7 separate regions of the Homo sapiens genome follow, and all the other regions are linked to region 5. The links are contacts of gene promoters, found by promoter capture Hi-C in blood cells and fetal thymus (Javierre and others, 2016). All regions are on one chromosome and are shown on one strand. Each heading gives the region's core, a stretch centred on a gene start or on the middle of the fragment in contact. The rest is flanking DNA. Distances are from core to core; before and after follow the strand shown.

Region 1 (3,558 bases), core at 108-2,607, 420 kb before region 5:
TGAATGCACCAATCGACACTCTGTATCTAGCTACTCTGGTGAGGCCTTGGAGAACCTTTGTGTCCACACTCTGTATCTAGCTAATCTGGTGTGGACTTAGAGAACCTTTCTGTCTAGCTCAGGGATTGTAAAGGCACCAATCAGCGCCCTGTCAAAACAGACCACTGGGCTCTACCAATCAGCAGGAAGTGGGTGGGGCCAGATAAGAGAATAAAACCAGGCTGCCTGAGCTAGTAGTGGCAACCAGCTTGCGTCCGTTTCCATGTTGTGGGAGATTTGTTCTTTCGCTCTTTGTGGTAAATCTTGCTACTGCTCACTCTTTGAGTCCACACTGCTTTTATGAGCTGTAACACTCACCGGGAAGGTCTGCAGCTTCAATCCTGAAGCCAGCGAGGCCACCAGCCCACCGGGAGGAACGAACAACTCCAGACGCACCGCCTTAAGAGCTGTAACACTCACCGCGAAGGTCTGCAGCTTCACTCCTGAGCCAGCGAGACCACGAACCCACCAGAAGAAAGAAACTCCGAACACATCCGAACACCAGAAGGAACAAACTCCAGACGCGCCAACTGTAACACTCACCGCGAGGATCCGTGGCTTCATTCTTGAAGTCAGTGAGACCAAGAACCCACCAATTCCGGACACACTGTGAGTCAGGATCAGTCTTATTATAGCTAATTAGAGCAACCCCATTGCTAAAGAGTTTAGAGCCTGGGTCAGACTTCATGGTAGCAAAGCAATGTTTTATTGTAATAGTGTAATTAGGAATGTGTGGCAATATTTTAACCCCTCCTCCCAAGAGTTCCACAATGCTTTCTTAACATGTTTATAAATATTTGCTTTTGTGCCATTTTAGGGGAGCTTTCCGTACAAACATTTGGCTTTTAATGAGTCATCCACACTCTGATTCATACCCATAAGCTTCCTGCTTTGTTATCAGTGAATATTGGGCTCAGTAACTGCCTTACTTTTATAATTTACATGAATGAATATGGAAAAGGTGGTGGAGGTAGAAAGACATATTCAGGTAAATATAAAAACACCCTGGTTTCTTTACAAGAGATTGACAAATACGGCCCAATACCCTATCATTTAAAGTAAGTGCCAGAATTGTGATGGATTTGTGTTTGGCCTTAAAAAAAAATAAAAATAAAAATAAAAACAAAAACACTTGGATAATTCTACCTGATGTTACATTTTTCTTTTTTTTTTTCTTTTCTTTTTTTTTTTTTTTTTTTGAGATGGAGTTTTCCTCTGTCACCCAGGCTGGAGTGCAGTGACGTGACCTCAGCTCGCTGCAACCTCTGCCTCCCAGATTCAAGCAATTCTCTCTCAAATTGCTCAGAAGCTGAGCAATTCTGCCTCAGCTTCCCAAATAGCTGGGATTACAGGTGCGTGCCACCAGGCTCAGCTAATTTTTGTATTTTTAGTAGAGATGGGGTTTCACCATGTTGGCCAGGCTGGTCTTGAACTCCCGACCTCAGGTGATACGCCCGCCTCGGCCTCCCAAAGTGCTGGGATTACAGGCATGAGCCACTGCGCCCAGCCTGATGTTCCATTTTTCTAATCACCAAGTGTATTTATTAGCTAAGGGTATCCCAGAAATTAAATTACCAACATAAAATTTTACTTGTGCTATTATAATTTAGCTATTAAATCCTAAAATTATCAACTGAAAGCTACTGGAAAAATAAATACTTCTCTTTCTTTTCTCCATATTGAAAGTAAAGAGAATGAGGATCCTTAGCTAAGATTTTAATTAAATCTTTTCTGAGCCAGAATTGCAAAGCTTTTCTTTGTATAAATAAGGACTCGAGTTATAAAGCATAGAACTAGCAATGAGTCTATCTTGGTCCATTTGGATTGCTATAAAGGAGTACCTGAGGCTGGGTAATTTATAAAGAAAAGACGTTTATTCGACACATGATTCTGCAGGATGTACAAGAAGCATGGCACCAGCATCTGCTCTTGGTGAAAACTTCAGGTGGCTTTGACTCCTGGTGGAAGAAGGGAAGTCTAGCTTGTGCAGAGCTCCCATGGCCAGAGAAGGAAGGGGGGTTTGAGGAGGTGCCAGGCTCTTTGAATAGAGCGAGAACTCACTCATTACCAAGAGAAGGCACCAAGCCATTCATGAGGGATACACCCCTGTGACCCAAACCTTGCCCCCCTTCCAACATTGGGGCTTAAATTTCAATGTGATGTTTAGGGGTACAAACATCCAAACCACAGCAGAGAAATACAGAGTTCTGTATTTCTATTCCCAAAGGGCAAAATTTGGGAGGTGAATGGGTCTATATGTGTGTTGGGGGGAAGAAGTTAATATGAAGAAAAGAAACTAAAGTGCTTTACATAATAATGAGAATTACAGATTAAAAAATCTGTAATCTTTCCCTAAAAAGGGAAAGAAGTACCATGCAAATTATGAGGTAAGTAGACTATATGACTTATTTATTTTTATTAGGTTAGAGCAAGAATTGCAAACTCAAGGTCCTGACTCCTTGAATTGCACTCTATGGACCCAGTCATACTTCATTTGCATATTATATATTAAATGCTTTGGCATGATCTTTGCTCCCCCTTACATCCTCAAAACACTCTTTTTCCATTTTTCTTAAAATATATGTTCCTCTTTGTCTATATTTTATTTTTCCAACTTTGAAAAGGACTTACACATAAAAATGGTATCACTTTCTTCTTAACTGTAAGAAAAATGGTCTCAGCCATACATTGATGAATGGCAGCTGTCATTCAGCCTCAGTGTGAAGGAGACAACAATGAGTGGTGAGGACTGTAATAAAATGGAAAGCACATGCCCATCCAAAAGTGAGCATTCACTTCTAGGAACTAGTAAAAATGGTAATAGCCAGATCTTTCTATTTTTTCACAAGAAGCCTGAAAGTATTTAAATATTTTATGACTAATTCAAATGCTTTAAAAATAAGCAATTTGATTCTAGGAGGCCAAACTAGTTGCTATCTATGATTTAAACCATAGTGTCTTTCAGAATTAATGTATGTCCTTGGCGGGTGTGTGTGTGTGTGTGTGTGTGTGATCCCAAAACACCAATAATTACCAGTGAAAAATTTAGGAGATTAAATATGTGTACTTTAATCCACATTGGGGGAAGAGAGAGATATAAAAGGTGCTGAGAACCTTGAAGTGGTGCCCCTCCTGATCTGCCTTCTACCTCTTCAACATACGTGCTGTGCACCATGAAAGACTTGAAGTGCAATGGCAATCTGTGATCCTTTGTGGAAACCTTTCCCTAATTTGCCCCAGAGTGAATGTTTCACACTTGGATTCACATTTGCTGAGAGAGGCGGAAAAATCTTAGGGACAATTAGAACAATAATAACAACATTCATATTATTATTCAATGACAGCAACATTCATATTCATTCTTTCATTCAGCAAATATTTATTGCACACTTGCTATGTGCTAGAACTATAAAATGGCAATGATGTGTTAGGTAATTTGTAATCATGGGGAAAAAATCAGTTAGGGAAAGACAAAACTGCCTTCCCTTATAGAGATTATATTCATTGAGGAGACAAATA
Region 2 (3,950 bases), core at 1,396-3,895, 510 kb after region 5:
TCCATCATCAGTGACTCCTATCCCTTTTCAATCACTAATCTATCTTCTCTCTATATAAAATTTGCCCACTTAGGATGTTTCATATAAATGGAATCATACAATATATGGTCTTTGATTGGATTCTTTCACTTAGCATAACCTTTTCAAGTTTATTTATATCAGTACTTCATTCCTTTTAAATGGCTGAATAATATTCCATTGTAGATAATACATTTGAATTATCCTTTTATGAGTTAATGAGCATTTGAGTTGTTTCTACTTTTTGGCTATTATAACTGATGCTGCCATAAACATGCATGTTCATGTTTTTATGTTGGCATATGTTTTCATTTCTCTTGGGTATAGATCTATGAGTGGAACTGCTGGGCCACATGGTAGCTCCATGTTTTTTGAAGAACTGCCAGACTGTAATCTTTGCGTGCACATGCACTCTGGAAAGGCAAACTACTGGCTTCTGCTATTATGGCTCTAGTTTTAAGCCAGCCAACAGCTAATAATTTAAGGAACAATGTTCAAAATTAAAGGAAGTAAATAAGGTTCTGAATAATCTGCAATTACAGGAAATGAAATGTCCCCTGCTTCATACTTTCCACATCAGAAGTTCCTTATGACAAAGAATAGCTGAACCATAAAAACTTATTCACAAGGCTAAGGTGGGAGGATCACTTGAGGTCCGGAGTTCAATACCAGACTGGGCAACATAGTGTGACCCTGTTTCTATAAAAAAAAAATAAAAAATTAGCTGGGCATGGTGGCACATGCCTGTAGTCCCAGCTACTCAGGAGGCTGAGGTGGGAGTGGCTCACCCTGCACTCCAGCTTGGGTGACAGAGCAAGACCCCCTCCCTAAAAAGAAAAAAAAAAAAACACCAAACTTATTCACAAAAAGTGTACCTCTTTAAAGGAATGCTAACTCTCTGATATTGACATTTTTAAAATAAAGCATTCAAGGAAATATTTCAAAAAACTAATGTTTTAAAATTCCTGCACTGAATATAGCTAAAAAGCCTGCAGTGTTACTAATGTAAACATCATCTTGTTTATTTTAGTTTATATTAGATGCCTTAGATACAGATATAAATCTTAGCTGCTGATTAATGCAAGGATGCTATTTCACTGCCTGACCTGCTGAATAGTTAGTATACACAACCGTAAAAAGATCACTTCAGGAAATCGGTCCTAGAAAAAGCTGTGAAACATGAGAACTATGCAATGTGATTTCACTTTAAAGTAAACATGCTAGGAGTCTGGGAGCATTATTTCACACTAGGCAATTTTTATTGCATCAGATCGAGGGGCTAATTTAAGAGCATTTTCTAAACTAGTTACACTTGGGCTAGCAATAAATAATAGCGGTCTGCCAACAAGTAAAATCTTCTCATTGGGCAACTAAGATTCATTTTCAAAACAGGACCCATCACTAAAAAACTAAACTATAAAATGTGATGAATAAGAACTGGGAATACTGGGAATCCAGAATACAGTATTCAGTTTGCTTTCTCTACCGTTTCATCAATTCTATGTTATTTTCAAAAACAGAGATTTTCTTTTCACTTCCTGAAGGTTTTTGTAAATCTTGCCCTTAGGCCGAAAGCTTAACATGTGCTAAAAATACACACAAACCTCCATATGTTTTCTATCTAGGTCACACAAAGTTGGAGCACCTGGATGTGCCAACTAAGAATCTGACTCTAGTCAGTATGATGACAGTGCAAAAACACCTCAAAAATATATTATTACATGCACACCATCTTAGGTTTGAAGTTAGCCAAATATATCTTGCCCCTAATTCCTACCTCACTGACATACGCTACTTGAAGAAAATGAAGTTAGATGAGAATACTCGATATTTAATTAGTAAACCTCAATTGTTTGTAAAGGCAATTTGTGATAAAGAGAAATGTAGGCTGCACACAGATGATGCATAGTTAAGTGAATAGTACAATGCTAAAACTGCTTGAGCAAAGTCAACTCCTTCTAAATAAAGAGGATATATTATTGGCCTAGACTGCAGCCAAAATTCTTGCAAATTGTAGGCACAGATGTACTAAGCTCATATTTGGATTTTTTTTTTTCCACCAAACAAGAAGCAGCACCAATGAATTTTTTTTTTTTTTTTTTTTTTGAGACAGGCTAGAGTACAGTGGTGTGATCATAGTTGACAGCAGCCTCAGCCTCCTGGACTCAAGGATTCTCCTGCCTCAGCCTCCCGATTAGCTGGGACTACAGGTGCACACTACCACGCCCAGCTAATTTTTTTGTACGTTTTGAAGAGAAAGGGTTTCACCATGTTGCTTAGGCTGGTCTTGAACTCCTGGACTCAAGCGATCCTCCCACCTTGGGCTCCCAAAGTGCTGGGATTACAGGTGTGAGCCACCATACCCAGGCAAATTTCTTAAGTACCATAAGTTTACTTCTAAGATCTTACAAGTTACTATAAATAGATCTATATCTATTATTATTTACTCCTGCGTATGTACTTGCACTGACTCTGACTCCAAAAAGTACAGAGGCACAAACACAATATTTAAAAGGTTGTTTTATTTCCCACATTGGCAACACAGGAACAATATGAGCCACAGCAGCTTACCACTAAGACACTGCTAAATGTTTTGAATTCAGTATAAAATTATAGATTATTCCATCACAGTATCAATACTACTGTTAAAAGAACAAACCACATTCTACTGACATAATAAACATTAATATGAATTGATTATTGCTAAGCAGCCTCAAACTTTCAAAAATGATTGTCTTGGTAAAATTTATGCAGTATAAATGAGTTCTAAAATCTCTTACACTTATTTAATTTTATATTCTTTTCTTGAAAGAGAACATGCATAATTATTTTTCCTGAAGGTTGCAAAGAAATTAATAGACATTTTACCTAAAGAAGGGGCAGTTTATAGGAGCTAGGCAGATGAAAGATAAAGAAAAGAATAATTTTTTCATTCTACCTTTTCATACATTTTTGGGTTTTCAACCATGTAAAGGTATGATCTTTTAAAAAATTAAATAATAAGCTGGGCATGTTGGTTCAGGCCTGTAATCCCAGCACTTTGGGAGGCTGAGGCAGGAGTTCAAGACCAGCCTGGGCAACACAGTGAGACCCTGTCTCTACAAAAAATTAAAAAATTAGCCAGTTATGGTGGCATGCACCTGTGTTCCTTGCTACTCAGAAGGCTGAGGTAGGAGGATCACTTGAGCCCACGAGTTTGAGGCTGAAGTGAGCTATGATCATGCCTCTGCACTCAAGCCTGGGCAACAGAGTGAGACCCTGTCTCTAAAAATAAAATGAAATAGAATAAAACATTAATAAAAATGTAAAGGTATAAAGTTAATCTCTGCATAACTTTCAAAGGGATATTGTTGAGACTCATTTCTTTGCAGTCTTTAAAAACAAGAAAGATTATTTCCAATTCGTAATCAAATCTTATTTACATCGGAAATATTTTTCTTGCCTAGACCCTCTTCTCCATTCCTTGTGTAACTTGCCAGACAACGAGATCATTTTCCACATTCTTAACAACAATTAAACATAATTTAGTCCATCCTCCAACTGCAATGAGAATTATCTTATTTTGTTAGTCTCCTACTGAAATGTCTCATTTAGTTCCCTCTTGGTCACTTCAACAAGAAGTACACATTCCCATGTAAGATACACAAGGTCCTTCAGAATCTGGCTCCAAGCAAGCTTCGTAGCCTCATCTCATTTCTTAGACAAGCTTTCTCTGACCTCTGATGACTCCCTGACATTGCACATGCTGTTCTCCCTGCTTTGAATACCTCTGCCCACATAGTCTTTCCGAAGAACCAGTCTTAAGGCCACTTCCTCTAATAATCCTTTTTGACTCTAATCAGATTTTAAACAATATTCACATCAATAACAATAGCAATTAACCTCTACTGAGTACTTATGGAGCAGGCGCTGTGCTGTGAATGCTCTCATTT
Region 3 (3,584 bases), core at 405-2,904, 310 kb before region 5:
GTACTTCCATTTAAGAGAAACAAATAAACTTGTTGTAATCAAATGCACCCTTAGGATTAAAAGTACCCTGTAGCCCTCTATGGAGAAAATAACAGAAGGCTAAAAGAATATGTGCATCAGAGAAAAATGGAAGACCCACTCTCAACTCTGACAGTATGCAGCAATAGTTAACTGGGACGTCCCTGAAAGCCAAGAAGTCACTGAACTTGGGACTTTTGTTTTATGCCACCAATCAGAATGCTACACAAAATTCTAGTCTCAGTCACTCCAAGCCAGGAGAATGGGTGTCCCTACCACTCTAAGCACTGACTACCGGAAGTCCCATCTCCTGGAACCTCTGTGTCATCCACATCTGTTTTGACTTCCGCAAATTTTATGTCTCTTTCTTTGCAAGGGCTAGTATGGGCATAACCAGGTTACCTGATGACTTCCCAAAAGACAACAAAGGCTGAATTAGGGCCCAGTAGCTTCTACTAAAACCCAGGAAATCACCTGGGGTGCTTTTGAAAAATACAGTTTCCCAGGTGCCTGAGATGCATCTCAGGAGACTTCCATGATTAGGCAAATATGACACACTGCACAAGATTCCTACTTAATAAATCCTCCGGGCACCACAAACTCCTACAGGTACTGTGATGACCCAGGTAATTCTTTAGGTCAACCTTCACATTCATGCCACCTCAGTCCTCTGGATAAAAACGTTCTTGCATCTTCTAAATCACCTAAAGGAGGCTCTGCCTGTCCTCCCACTCCAGGGAGAATCTATCATCCACCTGGGCACTAACTCACAAAAACAGAGCTCTCAGGAGTTACAGACCCAAGTTTAGAGCTATATTAAACTACACTATACCAAATAGAAGGGCTGCTATAAAGTGTTGGAGGTGGAAGAAAGGACATTTACTTTCCTATCATACACCTCGTGCAATTCCTCCATAGGCTTTCAACGCAATACAGAAAAAAAAAGTACATGTGTAATGTGTATATACATACACATGATCAAAATAGACTGTGGAAGACACAGAAGCTCCAAGACATGGGGCTTCTCAGTAGTACACACACTATCTTTTTTTAATAAGAGGACTGTAACTTTGCAAGGTTTACAGGGTGATCAATTAACTCAGCATATGTGCTCCTCACATTATGGAATAGAGCAGAGATTACATGAGGAAATCTGGAAAAATACTTTTAAATCTTTTTATGAGCAATAAGAAAAAATATATGTTAGACAAATACAAAAGAGAAACTTAAGAACTAAAAGACTCAAGCTTATATTTTATTCTTCTGAGATAAGGCAATGATTTTAGAAAATAATTTTCAAGTTTTATCCTTTCTCATCTTTACCCACTTAAAAAAAAAATGAAACCCCCTAGTTCTTAAGAGAAAGCCCTCTGCATGGGTAAGAAAGTAGTTATGAATATAATATCTCCATAAAGACTGATAGGACCAAGTCTACATTTGCAAAGCCAAGATAACAGATGCAACATAACTAAGTAACCAATTCGGTCCCTGGAGGCTTTCTAGAGGCCCACACTTACTACTGGAAAAGGAGTTCTCCTCCTAAGCTTTTGCTTTAAGAGAATGTTTCAGTTTCCTTCCAAAGCCGGCTGTGATAATTTAAACACCCACCCCTTCATACATGAACTTGATGTGATTTGAAAGAAAACTTTTACAAGATTTTCTGTTTTCATAAAATCTATAACCATTAATGATTCAACATGAAGGTCAAATAAGTCAAAAGAAAGCTTCTACCTGCCTCTCTCCAATCTGAAGTAAATATAAAATGGGTCCTTAACACGTTATATACAGGTAGCTTAGAGTATTGTAAATCCACTCAGCTGAAAACTACTGTTACCTGGGCTTTTCAAGATATCCTGGAACGACCACTCGGAGTCTGACTTTTCAATGAATTCCACAGTTAAGAGAAACCAGTTAACTGCATTCAAAAGCTAACTCGGAGGCCTTGCTGCCAATGTACAGCAACTTCCACTTCCACTTCCATCAGCTTAAATGTTCCTCCCCCTGCTCAGTCCTATAAAAAGAATCCCAATGATGTTAGGGGAAGAGGAATTAAACAATGCATTAATTTAAGACCATTTGTTGTTGTTATTCACTGATCTTTTAAACGGTAATCATTTGTTCCAAAACTTTTTTTAAAATTCACTTTGGCTCCTTACAGGGTAGCATCAGTCACCTGCCAGATTCCAACTGTGCTAAGTGAAGCAGGGAGCTAGTCTGGCCCACAAAACTACCGGTCAACTCCTGTTTCGCTATGGAAAACAAAATTTCCCTGACAGTCTCCAAGCTGGGATGTGAGGATTTTTTGATAGGACAGAGGGCTTTAATTGTCACTAGAGAAAAGAAGAACCATTCCTTCAAACCTGACTCAGGCCAGCTTGTTTTCTGGGCTCACCATTCTATCAAAACTCTGGGCCTCTCTCTCATTAATCTGTCTGCTGCATGGTATCACTCCTTGAGATGCTCTTCACCTTACTTTGGTAATGCTATATTATTTGTTTTTCCTTCTTTCACCTATTATATTCTAAGAATTCTCCAAATTTTTATATTACATCTCTTTTCTATTGTGTGTCCATAATTTTCTTTTGATGATCTCACCCATTCCCAGGCTTTAATTATCACTATAGGCAGATGACCTCCAAATCTGTATTTGTAGCTTGGACAAGAGCCATGGAGTCACTCCAAGTGTTCTCAAATCCAAATACACACAAAGCACCAACTGCTGAGTGAAAAAGATGCCTCTCACACACGTCTACTTTGCAAATGAAGGTAAATAGACACTTCTGTTATTCAGTAAAACTCACTTAACAGTATAGCTGAATTTTTGTTTTGTCTTTACATGTATTCTCAAAAAACAAATACTAAAAGTAGTCATAAATATTTGCAAGTTTTTATTTAAAAAGCTATCCTCACACCTGAAAAGTTCAGAACCATCAGCCCAAACTGTTCTTCTGAACTGTAATTTGGCATTCCACCTGGGCATTGTCAAAACCTCAAATTTGATGTGTCCAAAATCAAGTACATTCTCTCATTTTCTGCCCTTCTTCCAGATTCCCAAGTCTACTCTTTCCAACTCTCTTAGTTCTTTCAGTTGCACCATTGGTCTTTCAGTTTCCCGGATTTAAGTAAGTTTGGATTCCATTTTTGCTTTTTCTTCTTTCTTCCTCAAATCTACATGTCCTTAGGCTACACCACCACTTCTTTCTCTGCCTCAAAAGCACCAAATTCTAGTGTTCATTGCTTCTTGCCCCAATTTTGAAAAAAGCTCCTTCACCTTCAATAGATCCCACACTGCAATGCCAAGTTTACAGATTTGCGAACTTCTCCACCAGTGCAGAGAAAGAAATCCAAACTACTCATATAGGCATCCCAGACCCAAGCCTATCTTTCCAGCCTTCTCTCTGTTCCTTAACATGCCCATATACTTGTGCCAAGCAGATACACTAGGCATTCCTCAAATATGCCTTCCACTTCCCTGCCCCTGTGCCAGGCATCCTCTCTCCCTCCAACCTTCACAGCCTTTCCCAAAATGTCTTTCCCACTACCCCTGGCTGCAGCTGTCATCTCCC
Region 4 (3,537 bases), core at 934-3,433, 480 kb before region 5:
TTCATTTTGTAGGCATGATTGATTAAATCATTGGCCACATGACTTAATTCAATCTCTAGTGCCCCTCCCCTTCCCAGAGGTTGAAGGGTGGGGCTGAAAGCCCTAACCCTCTAATCATGTCCTGATCAGCCCTTTCCTTGAAACTATCTGAGTGTCCACCATGAGTTACCTTGTTAGCATAAACTCAGGTATAGTTAGGAATAATGAAAGAACTCCTATACCTCAGGAAATCCCAAGGACTTTTGAGCTCTGTACCAGGAACCAGGGGCAAAGACCAAATATATTTTTGTATTATACCACAGGTAAGGAATTCATTAAAAAACTACTAGAATTAATAAACAAATTTAGTAGGGTTGCAGGATACAAGATCAATATACAAAAATCAGTTGTATTTTTATACACTAGCCATGAACGATGTGAAAATAAAATTAAGGAAACGATTTCATTACAATTTCATCAATAACAATAAAATACTTAGGTATAAATTTAACAAAATTAAGTGTATGGCGTGTACACAGAAAACAACAAAATATTGTTGAAAGAAACTAAAGATCCAAATAAATGTAAAGACACTCCACTTTAATGGATCAGAAGACTTATTGTTGTTAAAATGGCAAAACTCTCCAAATTTTCTACAGATTCAATGCAATTCTTATTAATATCCCAACTGGTTTTTTTGCCTACATTGACAAGCTTGTCCTAAAATTCAGAAATTCAAGAGACCCAGAATAGCCAAAGCAATCTTAAGAAGAACAAAGTTGGGATCAGGCATGGTGGCTCATGCCTGTAATTTCAGCACTTTGGGAGGCTGAGGTGGGTGGATCACCTGAGGTCAGGAGTTCGAGACCAACCAGACCAACATGGTGAAACCCCATCTCTACTAAATACAAAAATTAGCCAGGTGTGGTGGCACATGCCTGTAATCCCAGCTACTTGGGAGGCTGAGGCAGGAAAATCACTTGAACCCATGAGGTGGAGGGAGGTTGCAGTGAGCCAAGATTGCGCCATTGCACTCCAGGCTGGGCAACAAGAGCGAAAACTCCATCAAAAAAAAAAAAAGAACAAAGTTGGAGGAGTCACACTTCTTGATTTCAAAACATACCACAAAGCTTCAGTAATCAAGACAGTGTGGCACAAGGATAGAAATATGGATCAGTGGAATAGAAGTGAGAGCCCAGAAATAAACCCTTACATGGTCAATTCATTTTTGACAAGCATACCAAGACAATCCAATGGAGGAAAGAACAGACTTTTCAACAAATGGCATGGAAACAACTAGATATCCAAATGCAAAAGAAAGAAATTGGACTCCTACCTCACACCATATTAATAGCAAGGAATTACCTTGCCTTGATATTTTTGAAAATGCTACGTATGTTGGCAAAAGAAACAATTTGCACCTCAAACACATTTTGTGAATGAGCAATTTTTTTAGTTTTTGGCATCCCTGAGAAGTGCTAACATTATCCAATGTGAGTAACACTGGGCCAATTCTTTGACTTTTTTTTTTTTTTTTGAGACAGTCTCACTCTGTCACTGAGGCTGGAGTGCAGTGGCGCAATCTCGGCTCACTGCAACCTCCGCCTCCCAGGTTCAAGCAATTCTCCTGCCTCAGCCTCCTGAGTAGCTGGGATTACAGGTGCACACCACCATGCCCGGCTAATTTTTTTTGTACTTTTAGTAGAGATGGGGTTTCACCATGTTGGTCAGGCTGTTCTTGAACTCCTGACCTCGTGATCTGCCTGCCTTGGCCTCCCAAAGTGCTGGGATTACAGGCATGAGCCACCGCACCCGGCAATTCTTTGACTTCTATAGACTCTTCATCTTGTGTGTGAATAGAAGTAGGCACCCTAGGTAATCTCTATGATCTCCTCTTGTTCCAAATTGTTGCAACTAGCACCTTTGTATGCTGGTCATCATTCTGATAAATGAGCCAGCAGGAGAACTGGGGGATGTTAGAATCACCTAAGGGAACATCTTAGAAACAGATATACTAGGTCTCACTCCCTCAAATTCTAGTTGGGTGGGTAGGCCTTGGAAATTGGCATTTTAGAGGAGCATGCCACACAGTCAAGAAACACTGTCAGGTCCAGCCAGGCACGGTGGTTCACGTCTGTAATCCCAGCACTTTGGGAGACCGAGGTAGGTGGATCGCGAGGTCAGGAGTTCGAGACCAGCCTGGCCAACATAGTGAAACCCTGTCTCTACTAAAAATACAAAAATTAGCTGGGTGTGGTGGCACGCACCTGTAGTCTCAGCTACTCAAGAGGTTGAAGGCGGGAGAATCGCTTGAACCCAGGAGGCAGAGGTTGCAGTGAGCTGAGACTAGGCCATTGCACTCCAGCCTGGGTGACAGAATGAGACTCCGTCTCAAAAAAAAAAAAAAAAAAAAAAAAAAAGAAAGAAACACTGTCAGACATCCTTGGAAAACAGCCACCCCTAGAAATCAGGGACCCTTTTTCTCTCTTGTGCCTACAAAGGTAAGATAGACCTCCCAATTGGCATCTATTACTTCCATGTCCAACCCGTCTTGGCTAAACCTCTTTCTTTTAATCTTTTTAGAAGTTAGAAGTTAGTTAATATCTCCATCAATTTGCTTCTCTTTATATGCCAAATACATAGAGTGAATGGTTGGAATATTAAAAGATCCTGCTAATTCCACTTAAGCCATATGGGCATTTCTGATCAAAGAATAGCTGCAATTTAACTTTTCACCTCTGAATGGGAGTCACAGGAGATGAGGGAGGTGATCTGATCTGTCACCTAGGTTTACAAATCTGTTATATGACACTGCAGTTCTGTTCCTTCTGGATAGAAATTTGACTCTGAGGAAGCATGGCACTTTGGAAAGAGGTGTCATAAAGAGTTAAAAGGAAGTAAGGAGAGATACCAGTGATAATATTTCCAATGGCTAAAATAGCTTTCAAGCCTTAGGCCAGGTAGCCTTGTTCATAGGTCAGAAAAAGGCCTTACCAGAAGTTACTTACCTTAAAATGAGATTGTTTCATCTGAGCATTCCTCAAATTTGAAGAGAAGGGATTCAAGTTCTTATTGTCCTACTCGTATACCTTAACTGTAACTCACATGTTTACTATGCCCAAGGCACTGTTCTAAGAGCTTTAGCTACACAAAGATGAGAACACTGAGACAGAAAGGCTACCTAGATTATGAAGAGTATAAAGCTGGAAAGGCACTGGATCAGGATGTGAATCCAGGCAACAAGGCACAGAGCCCAGGAAATTTAAACACTAAGCTTCTCAGTCTTGTTCATCAAAGAGTAAACTATGAAACAGAATACAATACACTTCCCATTCCTGGCTTAGCAAAATCCTTAACCACAGCAGGGTAATATCGTTCAAATTTGTCTTTAATGAAAAGAGCTTAAGTATTGGAGAATACTTTAGGAGAACTGGTGAAGCATAATGCTAAATTTGTTCTATTAACTGAAACATTGTTCTCTGCAAAATACAGAGAAAAATAAAGCTCTGTGAGGAGTGAGTGACTTTAAGGAATGTCTTGTAATTGAACATTATTATC
Region 5 (3,644 bases), core at 629-3,128:
TTATTAGAGACAGAATTAAAAAGCAAAATAAATATATAATAACCTTTATAACTTTTGTCTCACAGGCCTTCTATGTCAAACAAGAAATTATCTTTTCATTTTTTTCAGGACTATAACAAGGAAAGCTATAATTTAAATCTATAATAAGGTATATCATTTTAAAGGGCATTAGTCAAAGCTGCAATTTCCAAGCAAGCGGTGGTTTAGTCCAAAAGCTTGAAAAGTGGTAGCTTATTCTACACAAAAAGTACAGTGTAACTCTATGTATTTGACATAATTCTCTTCATGACTAAGCTGACTTCAAAAGTAGTATAAAAATCCATAAAAACTTAAAAATAAAGTAGGCTCTACATAAGAATGGAAACAAATATCTGTATTGAAAAAATGAATTCTTCCATTGCCTTTATTTTTTCCCTTATGTTCTCTATTTTAAAAGGTAAGAATGAGATCACTTAGCTAATTCACCAATCAAGAGTAGTTCAGTGGATTACTTTCATCCTTATACTATTATCAAGTTGAGCAGGGCTGATCCTTATCAACTTTTCTGGCTTCAAAGCTAGGAATCAGTGTAAAAGGGCTAAAAAATCTTTTACTCAACAGATGGGATCCACTTAAGTGGTCTGTCCATACTTTTAACCCACTGTTCTTTTGAAGTGAACACCATCATACAGTGGGCAAACTTCTGCTTATTCAACACTTTAAAAATACCTTTAAAATGAGAAATCTCCAAAAAACAAGCCGTGGTTTCTTATAAGTGTTTTTCACAGATGTACTAAAGTAAGCGTTTCCTTTCACACTCTTTGCGCCTAACCGTCTACATGATAGGGCCAAACCCAGGTTAAATATTTTTTTCCAGCTACCACTCTGGACACACCAACTAATTATGCACACCTCACAAAACCACCTTTCAAAATGCAGAGAGAATTAACAGCAAGGAAGTAAAGATTTTTCTAAATATAGTCCCATCATATTTATTTCACACTCATCAAGTAGGTCACTGGAGGTAGCTGGCAGCTAGGGACACTCAGATGCATCTCTCAAAGCCAAGGCTGAGACCAAGGGGTCACTGACAGCTGCGCCATCTACCTGTTGCAGCTGGGCCACTGCTCTGGACAACTGTCAGATCAGCTTCTTCGTCCTACAAATACTAATGACTGGATTTTTAAAATCGTTGTTTGCCACCCTTTCTTCCCGCCCCCCAACCCCATCGGGCCGCTCGGGCAGGGCCAAGGGCGCCGCGGGACTCACGAGCTCCCCTCCGCGCTGGCTGCAGCGGCGATGCCGGGCATGCCTGGCCGGGCCCGGCCGGGGGCGGCCTCGCTGCCGGGGCAGGGACCTCGCAGGCCGGCGCGCAGAGGCGAGGAACCCTCCCGGCGCCATCGACTCACCTACCCGCGGAGAGGCGACGGCGCGCGCCGCTCACCAGCCCGGGCCCCAGATCCAAGGAGGAGGGGCAGCGGCGCGGGGACCCTGTGGTGGGTGTCGTAAGGAGGAAAACGTGTTACCTAAGCCGGGGATGAGGACAGAGCAGGAGGCAGCAGCCTTTCCCTCGAGAAACGGAAGCGGCGGGGAGCAGGAGGAGGAGGAGGCGCGGCCCGGGCGCGAGGTTAGGCGAGGGGCGCTGGGCGTGCGGCCGCAGGCGCGGCCAGAGGACGAGGGTTGGGGAGGACGGCGGAGGTCACGCGAGCGAAGGCGAAGCCCCGGCGACGCACGGCCCCGCTTGGCTCGGCACCGGATCCGAGCTTGGCCTCAGCCAGGCCGCCGCCCCCGGCTTTCCCGCGGGACCGCGGCGTGGAAACGCGCGCTGCCGCCTCGGGGCTCCCGGGACGCGCGGGCCCCCCACGCCTGCCCGAGCCGGGCGTCCGCGACGTCACAAGTGGAGCGCGATGATTCAGAGGGAGGGCCAGGAAGGGAAGGGCTCTGGGGTCAGCTTGGCCACGGCTGCTGTTTCCTTGTCGCCGCCCACGAATTCACTTTTAAATCTTCCTCCTCCATTCATCTGTACTCTCATAGGGGACTGCGGGTTTGACAGATGGGTTGGCAGCTGTGAAGATGGACTTCCTGCCAGTGGTATCCGGGTCCCACTGTTCTAATGGAAATGTCAGGTGTACTGGATGTTCCTCAAGACACAGCAGTGTCTCTGGGCCTTGCCTCTTAAGGAGTGGGCCTCGGGCCACCTGGACAGGAAGCGCATCAAGGGTGGGGAACTTATCTCTCTCCAGCCTTTGGTGCTGTGATACTCAGTGTACCTTAAGGATGGTTTGGGTTGAACCTAGGTAGGAATGGGTGTTGGTGGGCGGGGTGGGGGTGGGGGGAATAGAAACCTTAAAAGGGCAACACAAAGTTTTGAATAGAAGAGGCCAAGCAGCCTCGCCCAGAAGCTGATGTTTGTGAATGTACTGGGCCTTCTAAAGCGGCGCTTCACACACCTTTTCACTTCTTGGCACAGGTAGGAAAGGATGATATTACAAGGGTCAAAATGGGGGTAAACAGAAGAGGCTGCTCCTGCAGAAGGCTTCCTGCAGAAGCCCTTGCACTTGGAGGGCTGGGAAGACCCATGCTGTATCTGCATCCCTGTCATTCGTTTCACGGCATCCAGTTGGGAAGCTCTGCTTAAAGCTTTGTCTGGCACGTTTTCTTAGCTACATTTTTCCACTCCAGCTGAGACTGCCTCACTGAGTTGTCAACACTTGGTCTTCTTCAGCAGTGAGGAACCAACAAGACAGGAGGCTGGGTCAATACTCAACTTGGCAAACTCCAGGAAATGGTGCTTAAAACGTTTGGCTTCTTGAATGGAATTCATGGTACTGCTCCCAGCCTGCACCTGGGTTCTCCAACTTGAGACAATTTCTCCCCGCATCCCCCCACCCTTCCCTGGCTTTCACTCACTAGCAAGTGGGCTGCTTCTACTTTCTTTCTCACATTCATTTCTTAGGTCCATTCTCAGAGCGGTTAGGATTACTGTTTAATTAGCCTCATAATCATATCTATGATGGCAAAATCAAGAAACAATTTAAACATGATTCTTAAAAGTAAGGAGATAAATACCAGAGACATAGAAGGTGAAAGAATTTGCCTCTAGGAAGCAGGAATTTAAATTTGGGGAAGACAGGGTGGAGCAAGGGATATAAATCTAGTCCATTTTTCTTTTCTTTTCTTTTCTTTTTTTTTTATTTTTAAGATAGAGTCTCACTCTGTCGCCCAGGCTGGAGTGCAGTGGCATGATCTTGGCTCACTGCAACCTCTGCCTCCTTCGTTCAAGCGATTCTCCCACCTCAGCCTCCCTAGTAACTGGGATTACAAGTGACTGCCACTATGCCCAGCTAATTTTGTATTTTTAGTAGAGACGAGGTTTCACCATGTTGGCCAGGCTGGTCTCGAACTCCTGACCTCAGGGGATCCGCCCAGCTCAGCCTCCCAAAGTGCTAGGATTCCAGGCGTGAGCCACTGCACCTGGCGGAATCTAGTCCATTTTCCACTTTGCTACCACACATCTGCAGGGTTTCTTGCTTGCTTAAAAGCTTTCATTGGCTCCCAATCTCTGATAATATCAAGAGCAAGTTCCTGAACAACTCATTCAAGACCCATCACCCCTCGCATCTGTCAACTCTGCCCCTTGAATATTACACCTCATTTTACTACAC
Region 6 (3,719 bases), core at 891-3,390, 290 kb before region 5:
CCGAGTAGCTGGAACTACAGATGCGTGCCACCATGCCCAGCTAATTTTTGTATTTTTAGTAGAGATGGGGTTTTGTCATGTTGCCCAGGCTGGTCTCGAACTCCTGGACTCAAGCAACCTGCCTGCCTGGGCTTCCCAAAGTGTTGGGATTACAGGCATGAGCCACCATGCCCAGCCCATGGTATCTTTGGACAATTTGGGGAAAGTCTATATTGGACTGTCTCCTGATAGGGTAAGTGAGGATTTGAGAAATTAATTACAAAAATAAAAGTCATGACTATAACAATAAAGTGGTTTTGTGGATTAGGTTATACAGTATTGATCTATATTATCCAAATATTCTGCAATCAACATGTGTTAATATATAATCTGAAAGAAGTTGCTTTTATAAGTCTTATTCTAAATTACCAAATTAGCTTTAAAATATAACATATGCTCTTTGGTACATATTCAAAATAAAAGTAGTAAAATATTAATATAAAGTTTTTTTTACATTGATCTTATAAAACCACTTGATCTTGTAACTGGTCTCTGACAATGTCTAAGGTTTGTTTCCTTGACCAAAAGGGCTTTGCTGTACTGTCAACACTGAGAGCCTAAATAAAAATGCAACACGATTGTAGCAAAGTTGATGGTGTCCTGTAAGGCCCATTCCACACAACCAGCAAAGTGAAGCTATGTTGTGTGATCATCCTGCTGTTTTCTAATCTATTTCCTTTGGTTGGATATGTAAGCATCTTGGAAACAGTTTCTTCCCCATCTAGAACTCTGCAAGTCTCATACAACATCTTCAAATAATTTAAGTTGGTCATATCTTTACAATTCTTGAGATTTTTGTAGCTGATACGCTTGGCCTGTTGAAATATTAAACAGATAAAATCTGCAAAGTAGTATTATCATTTTTTATATTTGTTTTTCTGCTGTGTGACTCAGATCTTTTTTTTTTTTTAATTAGAAACAGGGTCTCACTATGTTGGCCAGGCTGGTCCCAAACTCCTGGCCTCAAGCAATCCTCCTGCCTCAGCCTCCCAAAGCACTACGACTACAGACATGAGCCACTGTACCTGGCCAATATTATGATTTCTCGAACAACACTGAGATTTAAACTGAGTGAAGTTAAATTAGAAAATTCTGTTACTAGTTCAAAAGGTTCATGAAAAAACGGAATTAAAAGATAAAAATAAAGTATATAAACTTCATTTCTCAACATAAACTCCAACAGGTTCAAGACATTTTTATAAGTGATAATAGCCATTTAGTCCATCCCTAAAGAACTGAGGGTTCTATGAAATTAACCAGGTCAATGTAGTCTTTTTCACATTATTAACTGAAAAAAAAAGATTTAAGGATTTTTTTAGGAAACAAAAAGTCAGAAGGAGCCGTATCAGGACTGTAAGGTGGATGCCTAATCATTTCACATCAAAACTCAAAGTATTGCCCTTGTCTGGCAGGGCAGGGTGTAATCCCAGCACTTTGGGAGGCTGAGGTGGGCAGATCACAAGGTCAGGAGTTTGAGGCTAGCCTGGCCAACATGGTGAAACCCCGTCTCTACTAAAAATACAAAAATTAGCTGGGCGTGGTGGTGCTGGCCTGTAATCCCAGCTACTCGGGAGGCTGAGGCAAGAGAATGGCTTGAACCCAGGAGGCAGAAGTTGCAGTGAGACGAGATTGCTCTGGGCAACAGAGCGAGACTCCATCTTAAAAACAAAAACAAAAATTGCCCTTGTCTGATGAGAGGAATGAATGAGCAGGAGCATTGTTGTGGTGGAGAACTCTTTGGTGAAGCTTTCCTGGGCATTTTTCTGCTAAAGCTTTGGCTTTCTCAAAACATGCTCATAATAAGCAAATGTTACTGTTCTTTGGCCCTCCAGAAAGTCAACAAGCAAAGTGCCTTGAGCATCCGAAAAAATCCTTCACCACGACCTTGGTTCTTGATGGTCTGCTTGTGCTTTGACTGAAGCACATCCCCCTCTTGGTAGCTATTGCTGTGATTGTGTTTTGTCTTTAGGATTGTACTGGCGAAGCCATGTTTTATTTCCTGTTACAGTTCTTTGAAGAAATGCTCTGAAATTGTTGATCCCACTTGTTTTAAAATTTCCGTCAAAAGCTCTCCTTTTGTCTGCAGCTGATCTGGGCACAACGGTTTTGACACGCATCAAGTGGAGAATTTGCTCAACTTTAATTTTTCAGTCAGAATTGTGTAAGTGGAACCAACTGAGATGTCTATGGTGTTGGCTATTGTTTCTGCTGTTAATCATTGGTCCTTTTCAATTAGGGCTCAAACAAGATGAGTTTTAACTCACAAATTGACGTGGATGGTCTGCTGCTCTAGGCTTCAGCTTTAACATTGTCTCACCTCTTCTTAAAATGAATTATTCTATTTATAAACTGCTTAGTTTTGGGGGGCATTGTCCCAATAAACTTTTCATTAAAAGTTAATGATTTCATCATTCTTCCAACCAAGCTTCACCAAAAATTTAATGTTTGTTCTTGCTTCAATTTTAGCAGAATTCACGTTGCTCTGATAAGGGACTCCTTACAAACTGATATCTTAGTGCCTCGAACTAGATCCTTTTCAGACATGTTATAACAAGTTAGTACAAGTTTATTTTGGTGCAAAAAATTTTTGACATCTATGCATAGTTTTTTCATAATACGTATTTCAATGAACTTTTTAAAGACCGCTTGTGTAATGTGTTTTACTTGTCTAAGTTCCCTACTAAATTGAAAGCTCATGGGAATCGGGCTGTGTCATGATGGCTTCCAAAACTTCAGCATTTGACCTGGTGCAGAGCATATAGCAGCTGCAAGATAAATCTGATGAATTGTTTTTTGAGGAGGAGTTAGTGAGCAGGGCCAGGCGCAGCTAGGACTGACGCTCTGCACAATTCTGGACCAAAAACATAGCTTTCACTATTTGGATATGTCATCTGTCTAATTCTGGGTTCTTAATTGAGTTTGAGATTCTTGAGATTTTGGATAGTTAAACTCAATGAAAGAATTATGATTGTGCTTTGTGGTCAGAAGCCTTATGGAGTCAACATCTGAGGAGAGGATTTTTGTTGCATGGAAGAGAAACTAACTTCAGGCCAGGCGAGGAAGTAGCACAATCTCCTGGGGGACTAGAACCAAGAGCCAGGAAGCTTCTGGGAAGCCGGGAAGCTGGCTTTTTCTCATGTCTATTTTTCTCACTGTAGATTTATTTTTCTTTCTCTCTCTCTTTCACTGCCTGCAGGATCAGCAGATCTGTTTTCACTACCTCAAGGTACACAGCCCCAAACACTGCCCATCCCCAGCTCCCCATGCACATCTTTCCTGTTGGAGAAACCAGGAGAGAGATGAGCATTTCTGTTCCAGTTCCGAACTCCCCAGAGAGATTCTGATGGGCCCAGCTTAGGTCAGGGGATAGTCTTCACTCAAGAGTTCCTGAGATAACAGAGACTGGAGTAGCAGGCATTGCAGAACTGATTTTATAAAGGAAGAACGTGTACCATAAATATTGCTAGTTAAGAGCATGTATACTGTTGAGTTCTACCTCCTCAGAAGTCTAAAAGGTTTCCTTCCTTTGAGGGTGAAGAAGCAGTAACAGGCGTCCTCCATCAGACCCCTCTCTGTGGGCACCTAGAACACTTCCCATTGACGTCTGCTTCAAGGGGAGGTCACTAAAAGTGCCCCACATGATGCAGCAGACATTTCGCTGGTCCCAGTGCCCTCCCCAA
Region 7 (3,921 bases), core at 188-2,687, 260 kb after region 5:
AGAGGAGGACTGCTCCTACTAACAACTAAGACTCAGTGGAGTTTGTTAATTCAGGCAACAATTGGTGATATTTTAAGGAATGTTTTGTCATTACATTGTACAAATTATCAGTATCCTATTTTCCATTGATAGTGAGGCCATTACTGATTTCAAGTCTAATCTATGTGTATGTTAACATCCGCAATGTGCTTATACTATGTGATAGATTTCTTTGGAGGAAGGGAAACACAAGTGAAGGATTTGTAGTTGGATTCATTAGAACCTACCCAAATATTTCCATTCACAGGATCCCACTCTACTAACCTATGCCTAGAAAGGCTGCACTGTAATGCTGAAAGCTGTAGAAGCAAATTTAGGTTTGTTTTTTGGCTATTTCAGCCCCACTGGTACAAGAAACAAGACAGTCTTTTAGGTAGTTTCTAGTGCAAGCAGAACCTTTCCCATGGCCTTCGTGCTCATAATTTCCACTATAATATTTTATTGCACCAGTTACTTCATCTCTTAAGCCTTGCTGCTGAGAGGCACCTGGTTACCAGCAACAAAAGCTGATCATTTAAGAAATGTTTTGTCACTGTATGGTATGGATGATCAGTGTCCTATTTTCCATTGACAGTGAGGTCATTACCAATTTCAAATCTAATCTATGTATACATTAACATCTACAACGTGCTCATACTATGTGATAAGTTGTTCAGGGGGAAGGGGAACACAAATGAAGGAAAGAAATGGCCCATGGCCTCAAGTACGTTGTGATCTTATAATCAGTAGCTAAAAGAGTTCTGCTAAACTTCAGAGAGGAAATGGGATTCTTTCAGCTGCCTCATTCCCTCTTCACTAGATGATCAGTGAACGCTATATTTGTTAAGCTGAATTAGAGACGAGAGAAACTATTTCTTGGAGTGCTAAGTACTGATCTCGTATTTCTCACAGAAGCGGTGTTAAAAATGACAGTTAAGCTTTCACACTAATTCTTCAAGGCCTATTGAACCCAAAATGTTACTGAAATACACTGTTATTTGCATATAAAATATTGTAAATATCTGGCAAAATTATGAATAGGCTTTAATTGAATAACCAGGAAACCTAATTACCATCCAGAGATTGTTCCTATGGTAAAATATATTTCATGTCTAATCTAATATGAGATTGAAAATATCCATTTCCTTTCCCTCCCCTCAAGCACATATTCCCTACCCTGGCATCTATGGTTAAAAGGGAGTCCTCCTCTCCTGGCCACTTCCCAATAATGCCATGTGGTCTGGCAATGAAGGAATCACCCCTGACTAGGTGTAAAGAGAAGGGTGGTTTGGGAAATGGTTGGCAGCAGGGGCAGAAAGTAGAAGATGGGCTTTACAGCCAGGCTGACTAGGAAAACTAGAAAAGTTTTCCCATGGCCTTTTCAATGCACTATATGCATCTGACCCCAACAGGAGGCCACCAGAGGCAGCATTCCCTCCATCTGTCCCCAGATAAAACCCTTTTCAAGAATACCTTTTACTTCTTTCATAATCAATATTTTACAGAATGTTAAGTAACTTGTCAAAGTCCATTTAGCAAGAAAATATCAAAGCCAAGGTTGAAAGTTAGGTTATCGTACTCCCGTGTCCCTTCCTGTATGTTTTTCAGTACTTTCTGGGAAAATACAATCACCTTAAAAATAGTCGACAAGTGGGTTAGAAGAAGGGATGTCAGTTAATTAAATGACTGAATCTCAGTTGTTTAGTCTGTAGACTGTAATCTGATTAAAGGAATTTTATTGTGTTTTTTGACTACGTGAATACATTAAAGAGTTATATAATACAGCCTCAAAAAAATAGTCAATAAGGGGCATTTTCCACCAATTTATCATGATAGATAAACTATACTTCCCATCAGTGGTCTCAAACCAGCCAACACATTAAAATCACCCAGAAGCTTTAAAATTAACTGAGCTCTAGCTGGGCAAGGTGGCTCATGCCTGTAATCCCAGCACTTTGGGAGGCTGAGGTGGGTGGATCACTTGAGGTGAGGAATTCGAAACCAGCCTGGCCAACATGGTAAAACCCTGTCTCTACTAAAAGTACAAAAATTAGCCAGGCATGGTGGTGGGCGCCTGTAATCCCAGGTACGTGGGAGGCTGAGGCAGAAGAATTCCTTGAGCCCAGGAGGCAGAGGTTGCAGTGAGCAGAGACCATGCCACTGCACTCTAGCCTGGGCAACAGAGCCAGACTCTGTCTCAGAAAAAAAAAAAAAAAAAACCTGAGCTCTACTCCAGACCAATTAAATTAGACTCTCTGGGGGTAGGGCTTTGTGCAAATTTAACCATTTGACTCTAATGTATGCCCAAGGTTCAGAAGCTCTGGTATAATATATTATAAAGAAAATAGGCTTCGGAGTCTCAAACCTAGGCTTGAAGTCAAGATCCGTAACTTGCTCGCTGTGTGACTTCAACAAGCAAGGTACTTAATTGTTTTAAGAGTGAGAAAGAAAAGAAACCTTCTCTGAGGAATGTAAGCCTCCTCTAAATTATCAGGCCCAAAGAGGCATGGGAGTAAGGCAGCAGTGACATCCCACTTTCCCTGCTTGAGCTCATCACCTCTTGAAGCTTCTTGCTATGTGGACTCTAGACTGACTGTCGCTGCAAATAGCTGTAAGTTAACCTAACAATGTTGCATGATGGACACCATAACTCACGCCCTAGAGTTCAACAATGTATAGCTAATCACTAATCAATGTCATTTCTGTAAACCAATGGGAATTCCTGAAAAACAACTTTGTATCAGCCCACCGTCTTCCTTTTTTGCCTATAAAAACCTACTTTTCACAAAGGTCAAATGGAACTCTTATACAAGGTTATCAGGTCTGAGTCTTCTGGGCAGCTGTCCTCATCTTGGCTCAAGTAAACTCATTAAAATTATATTTAGTGCCTCAGCTTCTTCCTTTAGGTTGACAAGAGAGTAGATTTTTAAAATTTTATTTTGAGACAGGATCTCTGTCGCCCAGCTTGGAGAGTAGCACGATCTCGGCTCACTGCAGCCTCCACCTCCCAGGCATCGATCCTCCCACTTCAGCCTCCCAAATAGTTGGGACTACAGGTGCACACCACCACACCTGGCTAATTTTTGTATTTTTAGTAGAGACGGGGTTTTGCCATATTGCCCAGGCTTGTCTCAAACTCCTGAGCTCAAGTGATCCACCCGCCTTGGCCTCCCAAAGTGCTGGGATTACAGGGGTGTGCCACCGCACCCTGCCAAGAGAGTAGATTTTAAGTGTTTCACCATGCACAAAAAATAAATATGTGAGATAATACATATGTTAAATAGCCTGGTTTAGCCATTCCATAATGTATGCATATATCAAAACATCATGTTGTCTACCATAAATATATACAATTTTTACTTGTCAATTTAAAAAGTGTTAAGTTTTATAAGGATCAGGGAGAATGTATTTGAGCATCTCACATTACATTTGGAACAAGTAGAAACACAATAAATGGTAGCATTAATACTGGAAAACTGCTATAGTGGAGAGAAAGTGGGTTTAGAATTGGATATACCTGGCTCCAAATCCCATTTCTACCATGTTTAGTCTTTGATAAGTTAAACGTTCTGTGCCTTAGCTTCCTAATTTGTATAATGGTTAGAATAATTCCTATTTTAAAGAATTGCTATGAGAATTAAATGAAATAACATTTGTAAAACATCTAGCACATTACTTCTATTGTTTGCAATCCAGCTGTACTAGTAAAACTGCCCGTGAAAACAGTCATAGAATATTCCTTATATTTAGAAATGTTCTGTTTTCGATGTGGGCATGTATAGGTTCTATGTTTAGTGTAATAAATGTATATAACAGAATAAATTCTATTTATCCTATACTATTAACTATATCAACTGAAGAATGATGAGATTCAGAAATTTGGAAAGGAGAGCTTTATTTCAC

What was found. Contacts are between HindIII fragments. The CHiCAGO score rates a contact against its expected background, and 5 or more counts as called.
Region 1: a fragment that was not itself captured here is called in contact with the fragment with the promoter of INPP1 in region 5 in 1 of 17 cell types (endothelial precursors); the score reaches 5.2 in endothelial precursors.
Region 2: a fragment that was not itself captured here is called in contact with the fragment with the promoter of INPP1 in region 5 in 1 of 17 cell types (M2 macrophages); the score reaches 6.3 in M2 macrophages.
Region 3: a fragment that was not itself captured here is called in contact with the fragment with the promoter of INPP1 in region 5 in 3 of 17 cell types (M0 macrophages, megakaryocytes and total B cells); the score reaches 5.7 in M0 macrophages.
Region 4: a contact is called between a fragment that was not itself captured here and the fragment with the promoter of INPP1 in region 5, in 1 of 17 cell types (activated CD4 T cells). The highest score is 5.6, in activated CD4 T cells.
Region 6: a contact is called between a fragment that was not itself captured here and the fragment with the promoter of INPP1 in region 5, in 1 of 17 cell types (megakaryocytes). The highest score is 5.2, in megakaryocytes.
Region 7: a contact is called between a fragment that was not itself captured here and the fragment with the promoter of INPP1 in region 5, in 5 of 17 cell types (megakaryocytes, naive B cells, total B cells and 2 more). The highest score is 6.2, in megakaryocytes.

What each region holds. Positions count from the first base shown.
Region 1 is chr2:190,757,182-190,760,739 of GRCh38, reverse strand. LOC124907946 (a long non-coding RNA gene) reads left to right here and starts at 239. Exons shown (of 2, transcript XR_007087780.1): 1 at 239-648. RefSeq lists an enhancer at 1-931. The HindIII fragment of the contact is 868 bases long and covers 924-1,791 here.
Region 2 is chr2:189,834,081-189,838,030 of GRCh38, reverse strand. The region is part of intron 5 of PMS1 (PMS1 homolog 1, mismatch repair system component); the gene reads right to left. Among named protein-coding and RNA genes, the nearest start is that of PMS1, 52 kb to the right of the region's middle. The HindIII fragment of the contact is 2,100 bases long and covers 1,596-3,695 here.
Region 3 is chr2:190,654,422-190,658,005 of GRCh38, reverse strand. It overlaps NAB1 (NGFI-A binding protein 1), which reads right to left. Exons shown (of 10, transcript NM_005966.4): 3 at 1,853-2,029. Among named protein-coding and RNA genes, the nearest start is that of NAB1, 7.1 kb to the right of the region's middle. The HindIII fragment of the contact is 180 bases long and covers 1,565-1,744 here.
Region 4 is chr2:190,821,972-190,825,508 of GRCh38, reverse strand. No RefSeq gene overlaps it. Among named protein-coding and RNA genes, the nearest start is that of GLS, 57 kb to the left of the region's middle. The HindIII fragment of the contact is 2,144 bases long and covers 1,112-3,255 here.
Region 5 is chr2:190,341,823-190,345,466 of GRCh38, reverse strand. It overlaps INPP1 (inositol polyphosphate-1-phosphatase), which reads right to left and starts at 1,878. Exons shown (of 7, transcript NM_001128928.2): 1 at 1,506-1,878. LOC124906109 (serine/arginine repetitive matrix protein 1) reads left to right here and starts at 418. Exons shown (of 1, transcript XM_047446773.1): 1 at 418-3,644. The coding sequence starts at 1,151. The coding sequence ends at 2,029. RefSeq lists silencers at 1,183-1,512, 1,583-1,892. The HindIII fragment of the contact is 2,404 bases long and covers 218-2,621 here.
Region 6 is chr2:190,628,232-190,631,950 of GRCh38, reverse strand. All of the region lies in intron 4 of NEMP2-DT (NEMP2 divergent transcript), which reads right to left. It also overlaps a transcript of NEMP2 not described here. Among named protein-coding and RNA genes, the nearest start is that of NAB1, 19 kb to the left of the region's middle. The HindIII fragment of the contact is 653 bases long and covers 1,814-2,466 here.
Region 7 is chr2:190,082,407-190,086,327 of GRCh38, reverse strand. It overlaps a transcript of AKAP19 not described here. Among named protein-coding and RNA genes, the nearest start is that of MSTN, 22 kb to the right of the region's middle. The HindIII fragment of the contact is 958 bases long and covers 959-1,916 here.